Regions from separate parts of the Homo sapiens genome. Here region 1 is linked to region 2. Evidence: promoter capture Hi-C in 16 types of primary human blood cells and fetal thymus (Javierre and others, 2016). All regions are on one chromosome and are shown on one strand. The core of a region is centred on a gene start or on the middle of the fragment in contact, and the rest is flanking DNA. Distances in the headings are between cores, read along the strand shown. Region 1 overlaps PDK2 (pyruvate dehydrogenase kinase 2). Region 2 holds the start of COL1A1 (collagen type I alpha 1 chain).

Region 1 (7,466 bases), core at 3,399-5,898, 91 kb after region 2:
CCCCGTTCCTGCCTTTTTCCTGGTTCACGGACAGCGGCAAGGGCTCAGCATCCTCGGGTAGCACCACCTCCCCCACCTGCTCCCCTAAACACGAGGGCTTCAGCCCTAAGAAGTCAGCTTCCCAGGTAAGTCCATGCCTTTCTTGTCCCCAAACTGGCCCCCAGTCTCAGGTGACATGAGGGCGTACTTCACCTTGGCTCAGGCTGGGATTCAGACATTCCTGGAATCAATTTGTCCATCCATGGAGCCATGCAGTGATCCGTTACTTCATGCATTCTCTGAATTCATTCGTTCACTCTTCCACTCCTTCATATTCTGAGTAGTTCATTCCTTGATTCAGTCAATGCTTCATGCATTCAACAAATCACTAAACACTGATTCCCTACTGTTCACCCAGCTGGAGACTTCCTTCATTCCTGCTAACTCTTCTGCCTGGTTAAGTTCTAACCCCACTCCTGTGTGAGGAGCTGGGCCACCTGCTTGGTAGGGTGAGGCCTGGGGGATATAGAGACAAACAGGACCCCAACCTAGTGGTCTGAAAGCTTACAACCCTATGTGATGTGAGACGAGTAAGAGAAGCAATGATGAGCAACTGCTTATGTTCAGAGCGCCCTCTACAGTTTACAAAGCCCCAAATGCGTTTCTGCTTTACTCTCACAAAGGCTCGGTGAAGTAGGGAGGGAAGGCATGCTCATCTCCATTGTACAGATGAGCAAAGGAAGGCCCAGAGAGAAGGGGCTTGCCCACAGACTGGCACAGATATAGGTGCCAAGCTCTACAACCCCCAGCCCAGTACTTGTTCTACGGTTCTGTTTCTTACGTGCAGCTGGGCAGAGGAGAAAATCAGAAGCTGGGAATTCTGGGAAGAAAGAATCCCTTCGGACCTGGAACTTCCTTCTTTCCTCCTTCTCTTTCTTCCTTCCCTTATGCTGGTCACTGGGACACCATGATGAACAAGATACAACCCAGGCCCTCCTAGAGCTCACAGTCCAGTGAGGATAAAGACCTCTAATCAGGCACTTATTAGCTGGGGTACTAAGGCCAGGCGGGAGGCGCATAGCAGAGACACCTGACCCAGCCTGGGGGAATCTCGGTGGTCTGCCTGTAGGAAGTGACACCTTGCCTGAGACCGCCTCCATTCCTACTAACCTGGCTTGGTTCTAGCCCCATGTCCTCCAGATGGCTGCCTGCTCTCCCAAAGGCTTCAGGTCCTGATGCCTGACATGAGTTATCATGTCCTGTGTGCAGGCCCAGCTCCTGGCTCATGCACAGGAGGCACTGAGCAACTCCTGGTGCCTAGTCCAGGACTTCGGCTCCACCCAGATAGGGATGGTGGGTTGGGGGTGAACTCTCCTCAGTGGCATGCACCTTTTTCTGTCTAGGAATCCACTCTGAGTGATGACTCCACGCCCCCCAGCAGCAGCCCCAAGATCCCCAGTGGGCCCTGGCAGGAGGCCAAATGTTCTTACCCCTACCACACGCTGTCTCAGTCTTCAGATGAGGTGAGCAAGGCTGGCCCAGGGTGCCCACGGAGTCCTGACCTCTGACTCTGCAAGGTGCTCAGGTCACAGGCCAAGCCTCCCCCTCACTCTCCTTGGTCTCTGCCCAGTTCCTGGATGAACCCCTCCCCCCTGTCCACCACTGGACCAGCCAGCAGGTGGGCCAGTGGCTGCAGAGCCTCAACCTGGAACAGTATGCTGCTGAGTTTGCTGCACGGCAGGTAGACGGGCCGCAGCTGCTGCAGCTGGACGGAAGCAAACTAAAGGTGGGTCAGAGTGGAAGGGCCATGACCCAGCCCAGTTACTTGAGGTGACTTTCAAGGATTTGAAGTCCCTCATCCTGACCTTTGACCCTCAGCCCAGCCTCCTGGGCTGACCTTTTCACTCCATCTGTGGCCACCACCCTGACCTCTGACCTCTAGGCAAGGTCCTTGGTCTAATCTTTTGAGTTGTAGCATGAATCCCTAGTTTGACTTGAAACTCTAGTCCATGACTTCAGTGTGACCTTCAAGCTCCAGCCCTGGTCTCCAGGCTGACCTTGCCCTCTAGGATGACCCTTGATGCATATGAGTGTCCTGGTATCATGGGAAGCCACATCTCCCCCTGGTCAGCTTGGTCTGATTCTGTCTCAGAGGCTAGTGGTAATAGTGGGCAGGGGGAGGCTGTAGGAAGGGGGTGGTGGCCTCTGACCTATAAGCTGGGAGGTTCCTGGCCTGTCTCCTGCTCTCTGCTGAGTTGCTTGGGGCAGGGATGGTGAAAAGAGCCCCCAGGAAGTCTCTGGAAGTGAGGAGGGTCCTTGGGCACTAACTGTGTGACCTTGGGCAAGTGACTCCCCATCTCTGGGCCTCAGGAGGTTGGGCAGGTCCGGGCCAAGGCTGAAATACTGAGTGGAGGAATGGTGGGGGAGGAGGAGGAAGCGCCTAATACCCCCAACCCTCATCTTTCCCAACCACACTCATTCCAAATTCTTGCTCTGGGGGTTCTGATCCATGGGCAGGTCACGGTGTGGGAGGCGGAGGCTCCACTCCAGGGAGGATTTGGAGCTCCACAGAGTACACCTGGGGCAAAAGGAGCCTGGGCGTGGGAGGCCAGGACTGGGAAGGTTCTGGGACTCTCTCCCTCACCCCGGACTCCTCCCCAGAGCCTGGGGCTCAGCAACTCTCATGACCGGGCACTGGTGAAGCGCAAGTTGAAGGAGATGGCAGCAGCTGCCGAGAAGGAGCGCAAGGCCCAGGAGAAGGCTGCGCGGCAGCGGGAGAAGCTCCGGCGCCGAGAGCAGGAGGCCAAGAAGAGCTAGGGGAGGGTGCACAGGCGCTGGCACCCGGCAGGGGCAGCCACTGGCTCCGCGGGCACAGGCCTCACCAGGGAGGCTGGACCTGGGCGCTGCACTTGGGCTAGCCTGGTCCCACGCTCTCAGGGGGGACATGCTCTCTCTTACCCTGTCACTTGGTCTAGACCCAGAGACCCCAGAAAGGGAGACCCCAGGGAGAGGGCCTAGTAATAAATCCTATTTTGAGGACTTGTTTGGCACAGAGTTCCTGGGGGAGGAGCAGATGAAGGGGAGAGGGCAGAGAGGCCAGGGCTGAGGCAAGTCTGGGAGGCTGGGTCAGGCTGTCCCATTGCCCTCAGGCCATCGTGGGGCTGGGGTGGAGGGGAGCTAGGAGGCCTGCCTGCCTGCTTGCCTGCCAGAGGCCCTGAGGCCGGGCCCCAGGGCTCAGAGCTGGGCTGGGCATTTCAGCAGGAGCCCATGTGGGAGCGGCTCCTCTCCACTCTTCCAGGGGGCTGTGTGGTGGGAGAGCTCTGTCCTGCTCCCCCAAGAGGCCAGTGGGCGCTGCAGCAAGTCGCACTCAGGGTAGACTCCCAGCCAAACTCCTCAACAGGAGCGCAGAGAAAGCAGCCTGGGGCGAGTGCAGTCTTTGCCAGGACTCAAGAGGGGAGGATGAACATCCCCTTCTCCCTCTCCCCTCCTCTGTCCTGTGGGTCCCAGGGGGCGAGATGACACCACACAGGTCTGCCTCTCAGGGCCCATTCAAGACCTGGTCTTTGACCCATTCTCCAAGCCAGGACTCCCTTCACTTCCTGCTGCTTCCTCAGAGGGCACCTAAGTCCTCTTTGGGAGCTGAGCAAACAGGAACTGATAGGGACAGAGGACACCACTTCCACCAGCCAAGGCCTAGGAGCTGCTGACCTGGTCAGCCCTCACCCCAGCCAGGCAGAGAGGCAAAACCTGGGGGTCCCCGGCAGCTACGAGATTGGAAAGGTTCATCAGCCCTCCCCCATCTGCCCCAGGCATTGTCAGGGAATCAGTGGGCTCAGAACTGGCAGGCGGTGCAAGCTCTGCTTCCCTGGGCCACACTGAGGGCTGGGGCCAGCTCCCTGGATGGGGGTGGAGTTTACCAGCAGCCTGGGGACAGCATGTGTCCTTTTTAGGAAATGTCCTTGGAGGAAGTGTTCATGTGTGGCGCTGGTCAGCAGCTAGTCCCGCTTCCAGGACACTGGTCAGAGTTACCGATGAGGCCTGGGGGCTCCCGCTTGGAAACCCCTCCAGCTCCTCCCATCTGCCCAGACAGAGCGGCAGATGGCACCAATGCATGCTGGCTCCCTCATTCCTGCCCAGGGGCTGTGGCTTACGGCCAGCACCCTGTACCTGGGACTCAGCCCTTATCCCCCCTCTGCTATCTGTGCTGGGAGAGGGGCTTCGGAGGGAAACAGATATGAGGACACTGGCACCATCTGGGCCTGGTGGCAGGGCCATGGGAGGTTGGAAGGCACCCACATCCTTAAAGCCATCAGTAGCTATAGTGGGTGCCCACCTGCATGTGAAGGGGAGGCAGTTCTCAATTTATTTCAATAAATCCTTATGATGTGCCAGTGACCAGAATTTCTGTCTGCTCCAGTTGTTGGGTTGGCCGGACTCTGCTGGGCCCTGAGTATGGTGGGACAACAGGTCTGTCACCAGGTGCTGGGCCATCCGGCGTTCTGAACAGATGGCTTTGCCCAGTGTTTTACTCACAGTCCTGAGCTGGGCCGGACGTCCCCGGTGCGTCATGTGGTGGTCACAGGGCACCGCAGTGTGCGTGTGTACGTGCGCACGTGTGGGTCCCCTCCCCCAGGGATGCAGCCAGGCCAGTCTCATTCAGTCTCCTCTTTACTGTGGGTGTGGGTGTCACTGTCACTGCCACAGCCACTGGGAGGGACACACAGCTTTAACCCCTGTGTGCTTAGGGGAAGGGTGGGGGCATTCAGGGTTATAAAACTAACTATATACACAGAAGGTCCTAGGGAGAAAGCCACCCTGAGCACACATGTCTGGGCACAGTGGGGGCTGGGGGCTGGAGCTCAGGCAGGATGGACTAGGCTTGTGGAGGAGCGGGTGGGCATGAGCATGTGAGGACATGCTGGGAGGGCTCAGGAGGTGGCACAGACATTGCCAAGGCCACTGCAGGGCCTCGAGCAGCTTGGCTGGATGGCAAGCTCTCGGTCTAACAAGGTTCTTCCACTTTAGAGTTGGGCCCTGTGAGAGCCACCCCCTCCGCCACCGACCTTCAAGCCCTGAGCGGAGGGAGAGGCTGCAGGACCAGCCTCATTCCCCACTCACGGGTGTAACTCCTTTCCCCACTCAGTCCCCAGGTCTGGAGGGCACCCACCCTCTTCCTAACACTTCAGCAGGCCAAGGCCAGGGTGCCTTTGTGGGCTGGGGGAATAAGGCAACGGGACATCCACTTGGAAGGCCTGTGCTGTGGAGGGTGCTGAGGGGGACCCAGTACCCCTGGCAGAAAAGTGACAGCCCTGGTCTCAGAGAGGAGGACTGCCATGGGAAAATGTCTCTGGGACACCCCATCAGGGTGGAGACATCCCTAACCCTCAGGCATCGCCCACAGAGATAGGGAGGCCACCGAGGGGTCTCCACAGAGATGGACTGGCACTTAGGGACCATCACAGACCTATCACCGCAGTGACTTCCATAGAGACAGAACCTGGTCATCAGGGAGAACCCACCCCCTGCTCCCCCAGGAGGATGGTGAGGGGCACCACGGTGGGGGGACCCAGAGGCGGCAGTCCGTCCTCTCAGGTGCAGATGCACGGCGGCCCTTAGCTGACGCGGTACGTGGACGTGTTCTTGGGCTCCGTGCTGGGCACACACCAGTCGCCGGCCTCCTGGATGGTCTGGTAGTGGCGCCAGGCTGACTTGTTGTAGACAGGCAGGCGCTCCACCGAGTCCGTGGACAGGGCCTGGGGAGTGTCAGGGTCAGCCCCTCCCACCTCCCTGTGCCTTGTCCACTCCTCAGCAGACCACCCCACCCCAGCTCAGCGGCAGCCCAGCTGCCAGACACGGGGGCCTGGAAAGACCACAAAAGGGTGGTCCCTCCTGTGTCCCGCTCCTGCCCATTCAAGCAAGCAGCTCCCTCTAAGGGAGGGAGAGGGAGGGGGAGGAGGCTGGGCTGTGTGACCCTGAGCAAGTCACGGACTCCGGGCCTCAGTCTTCTCCTCTGAACTGAATGGCAAGACCTAGGGTGTCCCCTTCCTTCTGGGTCTAACAAGTCAAGGGTTCCCAGCACAGGGGTCTTAATCATAGACCACAGACTCCCCTAAATTCCCTGACAAGCAGTGCGTGTCTGGGGGTTGAGGGTTCTTCAGGTTGAGGAACTGTAGCTTTGCTTGGATTCTCAGAGTCTGGGGCCAGGGAAGGACTGGGGGGATGGAAAGGAAAGCTCGCAGCTGGCCAAGGCTGCCCAGGTCCTATCAGCAAAGCTCTTCTCCAGCTGGGCTCTGCGGGAAGGGCCCTCACCTTGAGATAGATGACAGCATCGGTCCCAAAGCCTTCCATGGAGAAGAGCTGCAGGTCTCCCTGGAAGTACTTGGCGTAGAGGCGGGAAATGGGGAGCCCATAACCAAAGCCAGCCTGCAGCGGGGCAGGAAGGCAGTGAGGATGAGGAGGCTGGCAGGGGCCTCCTGGAGCTGCAGGGACTGATGCAGGGAGGGAAGGGTGTGGAGCTGGGGTCACATGGCAGGGGTCCCAGAGCTGGGAGGGGACATGTGGGAGGGGACACTGAGGTAAGAAGTGTGTGTGGGGTGAATGGGGCAATCATGAATGCGGGAGGGAGGCTTGGGCAGAGAGAGGAGTTCCGCTCAGGGGCCAGGAAGTCAGAGCAGGCCCCACGGCTCCTTTGAGTCTCAAGTTTTCTAACAGGGAGGTGCTGACAAGTTGGACAACACCAGGAGAAAGGTAGAAATTGGGGGTTTGGGAGCTACAGAAGAGAGGGAAGATGGAGGAAAGGTGACAGAGAGACATCCGACAGGTGAGATCTGTGCAGACTGGGGAGATGTGGGAGGTGCGGGGGCCCAGATTCAAGACAGGTGACTGTCACAGACGGCCACACAGAAGCTGAGTGAGCAGGGAGATAAGGAAGTGAGTGAGGAGAGAAGCCTCCCTCAGGAGGTGGGAGGGGCTGGGGTGAAGCCATCTCACCAGCGGCGTTCCCCCGGTGCCAGGCTGGGGGGTGGGTGCTGTGGAGTACATGTAGCTGAAGAGTCGCTCAATCTTCCTCAAGGGAACACCCCCACCTCGGTCACTCATCTGGGAGAGATGGGATGTGTCAGGGATTCTTTACAGCTCATTTTCCCCACCCCGCCCAATACCCCTGACCTTCTCATGGTCTTCCCCACCCCCAGGATCTGCCCACCATGTAGGAGAAAAGGAAAGCCCGTCTCCTGGCAGGAGGGAAGCCCCCACTACTGCTCCCTGGTCCCCAAGGTCAAAGGGTCACATACCTTGATGGACAGATCTTCCTCACCCAAGGCCACCATGACCTTGATGGGTGGGAGAATGAGGCTGGACTCATGGCTTTCCACAGTCGCCCTCATGGCATTCTGCGGAGGGGCAGAGGTAAGAGATGCATGGGAGAAGCCAGCCCTACTCACGCTCCCCGCAAAGCACCGGCTCCCAGCCTCCTCACCTTGAAGAGC
Region 2 (6,549 bases), core at 4,050-6,549:
AAAGAAAAGGAAAGGAAAAAAAAAACTAAGAAAAGGAAGAAAAACGCATGAAGAGAAAAATTTGAAGGGAGAGAGGTTGGGGGTGGGGGAGAGAAAAGGTAAATGAATAGAAGAAAGAAAGGAAGAAAGGAATGGAGAAAAGCAAATGGGATAAAATAGGCACGGAATTGAACCAACCCAGAAAGGTGTAAATATTCAATCAATTCATGGGGCCAACTTTCTCTTTTTTTTTTCTTTTCTCTTTCTTTCTTTCTTTCTTTTTTTTTTTTTGAGAGAGAGAGTTTCGCTTTTTTGCCCAGGCTGGAGTGCAATGGTGTGATCTCGGTTCACTGCAACCCCCGCCTCCTGGGTTCAAGTGATTCTCCTGCCTCAGCCTCCCAAGTAGCTGGTACTACAGGCCCATGCCGCCATGCCGGGCTAATTTTTGTATTTTTAGTAGAGATGGAGTTTCACCATGTTGGCTAGGCTGGGGTCTCAAACTCTCGACCTCAGGTGATCCGACTGCCTCAGCCTCCCAAAATGTTGGGATTACAGGTGTGAGCCACCGCGCCCTGCCAAGCCAACTTTTAAGAAGAACTACACTGCCTCCAGACATCAGGAGCAGGGAGGGATATGACAGAAAAGCTGCCAGCTACCCAGCTGGGAGCTCACTCCAGCAGGAAAGATGGGGCTGACCCCTCACTTCTGACTACCAGAGAGCAGCAGTGAGAACTGGGGTCCCCTAACTCAACAACATCCCCCATCCAGTGCATTATTCTCAGCTGGGGCCTGGCTGGGACCTGGTGGGGTGGCTGGAGAGGGCTTGGGAGCTGGGGCCATGACAGACCTCGTGTCACCTGGGGCCATACCCCCAGCCCTTCTCTCTCCAGCTCCCAAGTTCTCCTCCTAGGACTGGGGTGGGGGTGGTGGAGGCAGCGGTCAGAGAATGGGGTGGGATCCGTCCAGGACTAGAAAACAAAGTTCATCTTCAAGAGCCTGGAATGAGGGCTTGTTCTAGGGGAGAATGAGGGGGAGGCTGGGCCTGGCTATGGACATTTGAGGGCTCGGGTCACCTGGAAAGAAAAGGAAAGGGGGAAGGAGAGCAAAAGAGGCAAATGAGATCCAGAAAAGGAGCTCTGGAGACAGAGGGGGATGGAGAAAGCAGCGAAGAAACTTGGAAGACAGAGGAGGGATGCAGGGGCCTGAAAGGAACGCAGGATCCGGGCTGGGAAGAAAGAGAAAGAGCAGGGGACAGATGCCTCTCTAGACTCCTGCCACAGCCAGACTCCTCCTCCCAGTCGCTGCCCTCTGACCTTGCTTCCTGGCCTCCCACACACTCCTTAGCCCACTCCAGTCCGGCTTCCTTGTCCATCTCTCCACCACAGCAGCTCACGCTGCGGGGATCAGTCACCACCATTCTGCTAAGTCCAGGGAACATTTTACTCCTTACCATACTAGTTCTCTCTGCAGCATATAACTCTCCTTCCTTCTAGTACCATCTCTTTCCTCTGCACTCATGACCCCCCAATCCCTCTCACCCAGCCCTCCTTCTCTGGCCACTCTTGCCCTATCTCCTCCTCCTCCACCCAGCCCTTACACCCTGAGGGTCCCCGAGGCTCAGTGCCAGCCCCTCCACACTCCCTCCCTCCATGCTTTCTCTGAGACAACACCATCCACAACCCCAGCTTCAGTTACCATCATCCTGGGACCCACATTTGTCTCTCCTCTGAACTCCTGACCCAAGTGCCCAAGGGTTTCCTCCGTATTTCTAATTGGATGTCTCACAGGCTTCAAACACTCAGCATGGACAAAACCTACTTCATCATCTTCCCCCTAACCCTGGAAAGGAAGGAAGGAGGGAGGAAGGGAGAGAGGGAAATCCTAGGAGGCTGGAGGACTTGGGTTTGGGGCTAAGGCATAGAAGAGCAGAGCTGTACCTGGAAGCTGAGGAACCTAGCAAAGGGCTCCGACTGTGCAATGCTAAAGCGAGGGAAGAAGAAGGGCCTGCACACACCCGGGGTCTATCCCCAGACTCTGCTCCAGGCTCCCTCAACAGGAACTGTGCAGGGCTCCATGATAGAGACTCATGGAGAGCTTCATCCTGGGGTCTTCACTGCACCCCCACTCTTAGACCCCGCCCTTCTGTCTCCTCAGACCCTCTCCTAGGAACCCCCTCTTTATCATCAGTCTAGGGCTAGAGGTGGGAGCAGAGAAGCGTTCTGGAGAATTGGAGTTGGGGGAAGAGCAACAGAACCTCAACTGGGGGCTGCAGCAGCTGGAAAGGGTGACCCCGATGTGCAGGGCAGGGGTGCATGCCCCCCACCAGGTGCACAACACCTGGGCTACCTCTTCCAGGTGTGTTCTCCTCCTTTGTCCCATACCATGGAGTCCAGATGGGGCACCTGAGGAGCTCTGAGGGTGGGGGCCTTTTCCCTCCTTCTTTGGTGTTGGAGGGGGGCACTTGGGGAAATTTGGAGAAGGAGAGAACTCAAGCTCAGCACTTTCCTCTTTCTGTTTTTCTTCTTAAGGAATTTTTTTTCCCTAACTGCTGATGACTTTACCATTTCTTGGGGGTGTGGGGAGGAGATTTTGGCTTTTGCTCCCCCCCACTTTAAGTGCCGGACAAAGTCTTACATTCCACAAGAAGCCAGAGCTTCAGAGTTTCCTAAAGATGAGGTGGCGTCTCCTCCTCTCACAGGCACAAGCTCCCTCCTCCTCCCACCCCCCATCCCCCCAGTCTGCAGCCCTCAATCCTGGCCAGGAAGGCCCAGCCAGGCTGGGAGGAGACCCCAAGCACATTCTTCCTCTCACTGTCATACTGCAGAAATTAAAGACACATCTTCAGCCTGGGCACCCGCCAAGCGTTTTAAGTCGAAGAGTGGCAGGGGAGGCCTTGAGCCTCAGCTCCATGCCACGTGTAAAGGATGCTTGGAAACTGTCTGCCTCGGCCCCTGGGAGGAAGGCCTGGAACTGGACATTGGGGTGGTGGCTGTCACACGCCAGGCACACAAAACTCCAAAGCCAGGGATCCCCAAATATCCTTCAGAACCCCAGGCCCATGATGTAGCAACCCCCAATTCACACCTTGGAGGTTTCAACTCTTCTTTAAGATGGGCGTGGGAAAGCCTGGATGGGAAACATATGGGGAGGGGCGGGGAGCTGCAGGCAGGAGCCCTTCTTACTACGAAAACCCAAGAAGCAAGGAAGTGGACAGGTCACTAACCCTCATACTACCAAGCCCTGCGGCACCCTGCCCTAGACCACCACTCTAAATGTCTGTTCCCTCCAAAAACAGGACCCCTGTCGCCTATTAGGGAGGGGTTCTCTTGGAACTGACCCACAGTAGGGGGCAGGACTTTGGTGGGTTCAAGAACTGCCATCTCAGCACCTCAGCCCCCTAGTCCTGCCCTGCAGTCGCTGGCACTAGGCGGGGGCAGACCCTGGGCCACAAGTTGCTGCCACATGGTCGGGATAATTGATGAAGGTCCATCCCTCCATTGCTGTCTCCAGCCCTGCCTCTCTGGAAACTCTATATTTTCCCTTTAATTATAGCCCCTGCAGTCTCCCTCTGCTGCCCCACCCGCACCGCTCATCCTGGCTGCCCACGGCCAGCCGGCCAGCCGACGTGGCTCCCTCCCCTTCTGTTCCTTTTTTTTCCCCTTTGCCTTCGTTGCACAAAACCAGCTGGGGGAGGGCGTGGAGAGGGGCGGGGGGAGGCAATGGAATCTTGGATGGTTTGGGGGAGGCGGGACTCCCCGCTTCCACGTTTGCAGCTCTGGAGCACCCGGGGTGGGGAGCTGCACAGGAGGGAGAGAAATGAACAGGGCACTGCAAGGAGACCCCCAGGCCTTCTCTCAGCCCTACAGAGTTTCTCAGGACGAGGTAGATTGGGGTTGAGGCAGAGCCTTGTTGGGGGAATGGGACATGGAGGAAGAAAGGACGTGGAGTTCTAGAGCCATCTTCCTTAGATATAGCCTGCTGTCCTTCGGGTCCCCAGACCCTTTCAGAGTGTACAGATGATTCTCTCTGGTTCCTAAGGCATAGAGCAATGACCGGGATTTTCAAGAAAGAGATGAGGCAGTGGGAAGTAGCCCCTAAAACAAAGTCAATCATCCTCTGCAGCCCATCCCACACCCCCAAAGGAAAGTTTCACCCAGACACCCAAAATATCCCATACATCCCCAACACTGAGTCCAGGTACAACTGGAGAAGGGGCTTTATGCAGCTCCCAGAAAGACACCCCTTTAGCTAAGTGCCCTCCCTCCACCCAGGTTCTCTCTGGTTTGACTGTGCTGGGAAGGAGGGTCTCTAAGCAGCCCCTGGCCACAGCCATGGCAAACAAAACTCTTCTCTAAGTCACCAATGATCACAGGCCTCCCACTAAAAATACTTCCCAACTCTGGGGTGGAAGAGTTTGGGGGATGAATTTTTAGGGGATTGCAAGCCCCAATCCCCACCTCTGTGTCCCTAGAATCCCCCACCCCTACCTTGGCTGCTCCATCACCCAACCACCAAAGCTTTCTTCTGCAGAGGCCACCTAGTCATGTTTCTCACCCTGCACCTCAGCCTCCCCACTCCATCTCTCAATCATGCCTAGGGTTTGGAGGAAGGCATTTGATTCTGTTCTGGAGCACAGCAGAAGAATTGACATCCTCAAAATTAAAACTCCCTTGCCTGCACCCCTCCCTCAGATATCTGATTCTTAATGTCTAGAAAGGAATCTGTAAATTGTTCCCCAAATATTCCTAAGCTCCATCCCCTAGCCACACCAGAAGACACCCCCAAACAGGCACATCTTTTTAATTCCCAGCTTCCTCTGTTTTGGAGAGGTCCTCAGCATGCCTCTTTATGCCCCTCCCTTAGCTCTTGCCAGGATATCAGAGGGTGACTGGGGCACAGCCAGGAGGACCCCCTCCCCAACACCCCCAACCCTTCCACCTTTGGAAGTCTCCCCACCCAGCTCCCCAGTTCCCCAGTTCCACTTCTTCTAGATTGGAGGTCCCAGGAAGAGAGCAGAGGGGCACCCCTACCCACTGGTTAGCCCACGCCATTCTGAGGACCCAGCTGCACCCCTACCACAGCACCTCTGGCCCAGGCTGGGCTGGGGGGCTGGGGAGGCAGAGCTGCGAAGAGGGGAGATGTGGGGTGGACTCCCTTCCCTCCTCCTCCCCCTCTCCATTCCAACTCCCAAATTGGGGGCCGGGCCAGGCAGCTCTGATTGGCTGGGGCACGGGCGGCCGGCTCCCCCTCTCCGAGGGGCAGGGTTCCTCCCTGCTCTCCATCAGGACAGTATAAAAGGGGCCCGGGCCAGTCGTCGGAGCAGACGGGAGTTTCTCCTCGGGGTCGGAGCAGGAGGCACGCGGAGTGTGAGGCCACGCATGAGCGGACGCTAACCCCCTCCCCAGCCACAAAGAGTCTACATGTCTAGGGTCTAGACATGTTCAGCTTTGTGGACCTCCGGCTCCTGCTCCTCTTAGCGGCCACCGCCCTCCTGACGCACGGCCAAGAGGAAGGCCAAGTCGAGGGCCAAGACGAAGACAGTAAGTCCCAAACTTTTGGGAGTGCAAGGATACTCTATATCGCGCCTTGCGCTTGGTCCCGGGGGCCGCGGCTTAAAACGAGACGTGGATGATCCGGAGACTCGGGAATGGAAGGGAGATGATGAGGGCTCTTCCTCGGCGCCCTGAGACAGGAGGGAGCTCACCCTGGGGCGAGGTTGGGGTTGAACGCGCCCCGGGAGCGGGAGGTGAGGGTGGAGCGCGGCGTGAGTTGGTGCAAGAGAGAATCCCGAGCGCGCAACCGGGGAAGTGGGGATCTGGGTGCAGAGTGAGGAAAGCACGTCGAAGATGGGATGGGGGCGCCGAGCGGGGCATTTGAAGCCCAAGATGTAGAAGCAATCAGGAAGGCCGTGGGATGATTCATAAGGAAAGATTGCCCTCTCTGCGGGCTAGAGTGTTGCTGGGGCCGTGGGGGTGCTGGGCAGCCGCGGAGGGGGTGCGGAGCGTGGGCGGGTGGAGGATGAGAAACTTTGGCGCGGACTCGGCGGGGCGGGGTCCTTGCGCCCCCTGCTGACCGATGCTGAGCACTGCGTCTCCCGGTCCAACGCTTACTGGGGCAGGAGCCGGAGCGGGAAGACCCGGGTTATTGCTGGGTGCGGACCCCCACCTCTAGATCTGGAAAGTAAAGCCAGGGATGGGGCAGCCCAAGCCTCTTAAAGAGGTAGTCGGGCCGGTGAGGTCGGCCCCGCCCCGGCCCCATTGCTTAGCGTTGCCCGACACCTAGTGGCCGTCTGGGGAGCCGCTAGCGCGGTGGGAGTGGTTAGCTAACTTCTGGACTATTTGCGGACTTTTTGGTTCTTTGGCTAAAAGTGACCTGGAGGCATTGGCTGGCTTTGGGGGACTGGGGATGGCCCCGAGAGCGGGCTTTTAAGATGTCTAGGTGCTGGAGGTTAGGGTGTCTCCTAATTTTGAGGTACATTTCAAGTCTTGGGGGGGCCTCCCTTCCAATCAGCCGCTCCCATTCTCCTAGCCCCGCCCCCGCCACCCCACCTGCCCAGGGAATGGGGGCGGG

The links. The method cuts DNA at HindIII sites, captures the fragments that hold promoters and counts their contacts. A CHiCAGO score of 5 or more calls a contact.
Region 1: a contact is called between a fragment that was not itself captured here and the fragment with the promoter of COL1A1 in region 2, in 3 of 17 cell types (M0 macrophages, M1 macrophages and M2 macrophages). The highest score is 7.7, in M0 macrophages.

What each region holds. Positions count from the first base shown.
Region 1 is chr17:50,108,223-50,115,688 of GRCh38, reverse strand. PDK2 (pyruvate dehydrogenase kinase 2) reads right to left here. Exons shown (of 11, transcript NM_002611.5): 7 at 7,457-7,466; 8 at 7,272-7,370; 9 at 6,970-7,077; 10 at 6,289-6,402; 11 at 3,537-5,732. The coding sequence ends at 5,592. It overlaps SAMD14 (sterile alpha motif domain containing 14), which reads left to right. Exons shown (of 10, transcript NM_001257359.2): 7 at 1-125; 8 at 1,383-1,502; 9 at 1,610-1,765; 10 at 2,641-5,649. The coding sequence ends at 2,796. Among named protein-coding and RNA genes, the nearest start is that of PDK2-AS1, 9.6 kb to the right of the region's middle. RefSeq lists enhancers at 1,000-1,595, 2,521-3,206, 3,207-3,892, 7,223-7,466. The HindIII fragment of the contact is 8,208 bases long and covers 545-7,466 here.
Region 2 is chr17:50,200,381-50,206,929 of GRCh38, reverse strand. COL1A1 (collagen type I alpha 1 chain) reads left to right here and starts at 5,299. Exons shown (of 51, transcript NM_000088.4): 1 at 5,299-5,519. The coding sequence starts at 5,417. RefSeq lists an enhancer at 705-1,206 and a silencer at 6,035-6,084. The HindIII fragment of the contact is 2,253 bases long and covers 4,499-6,549 here.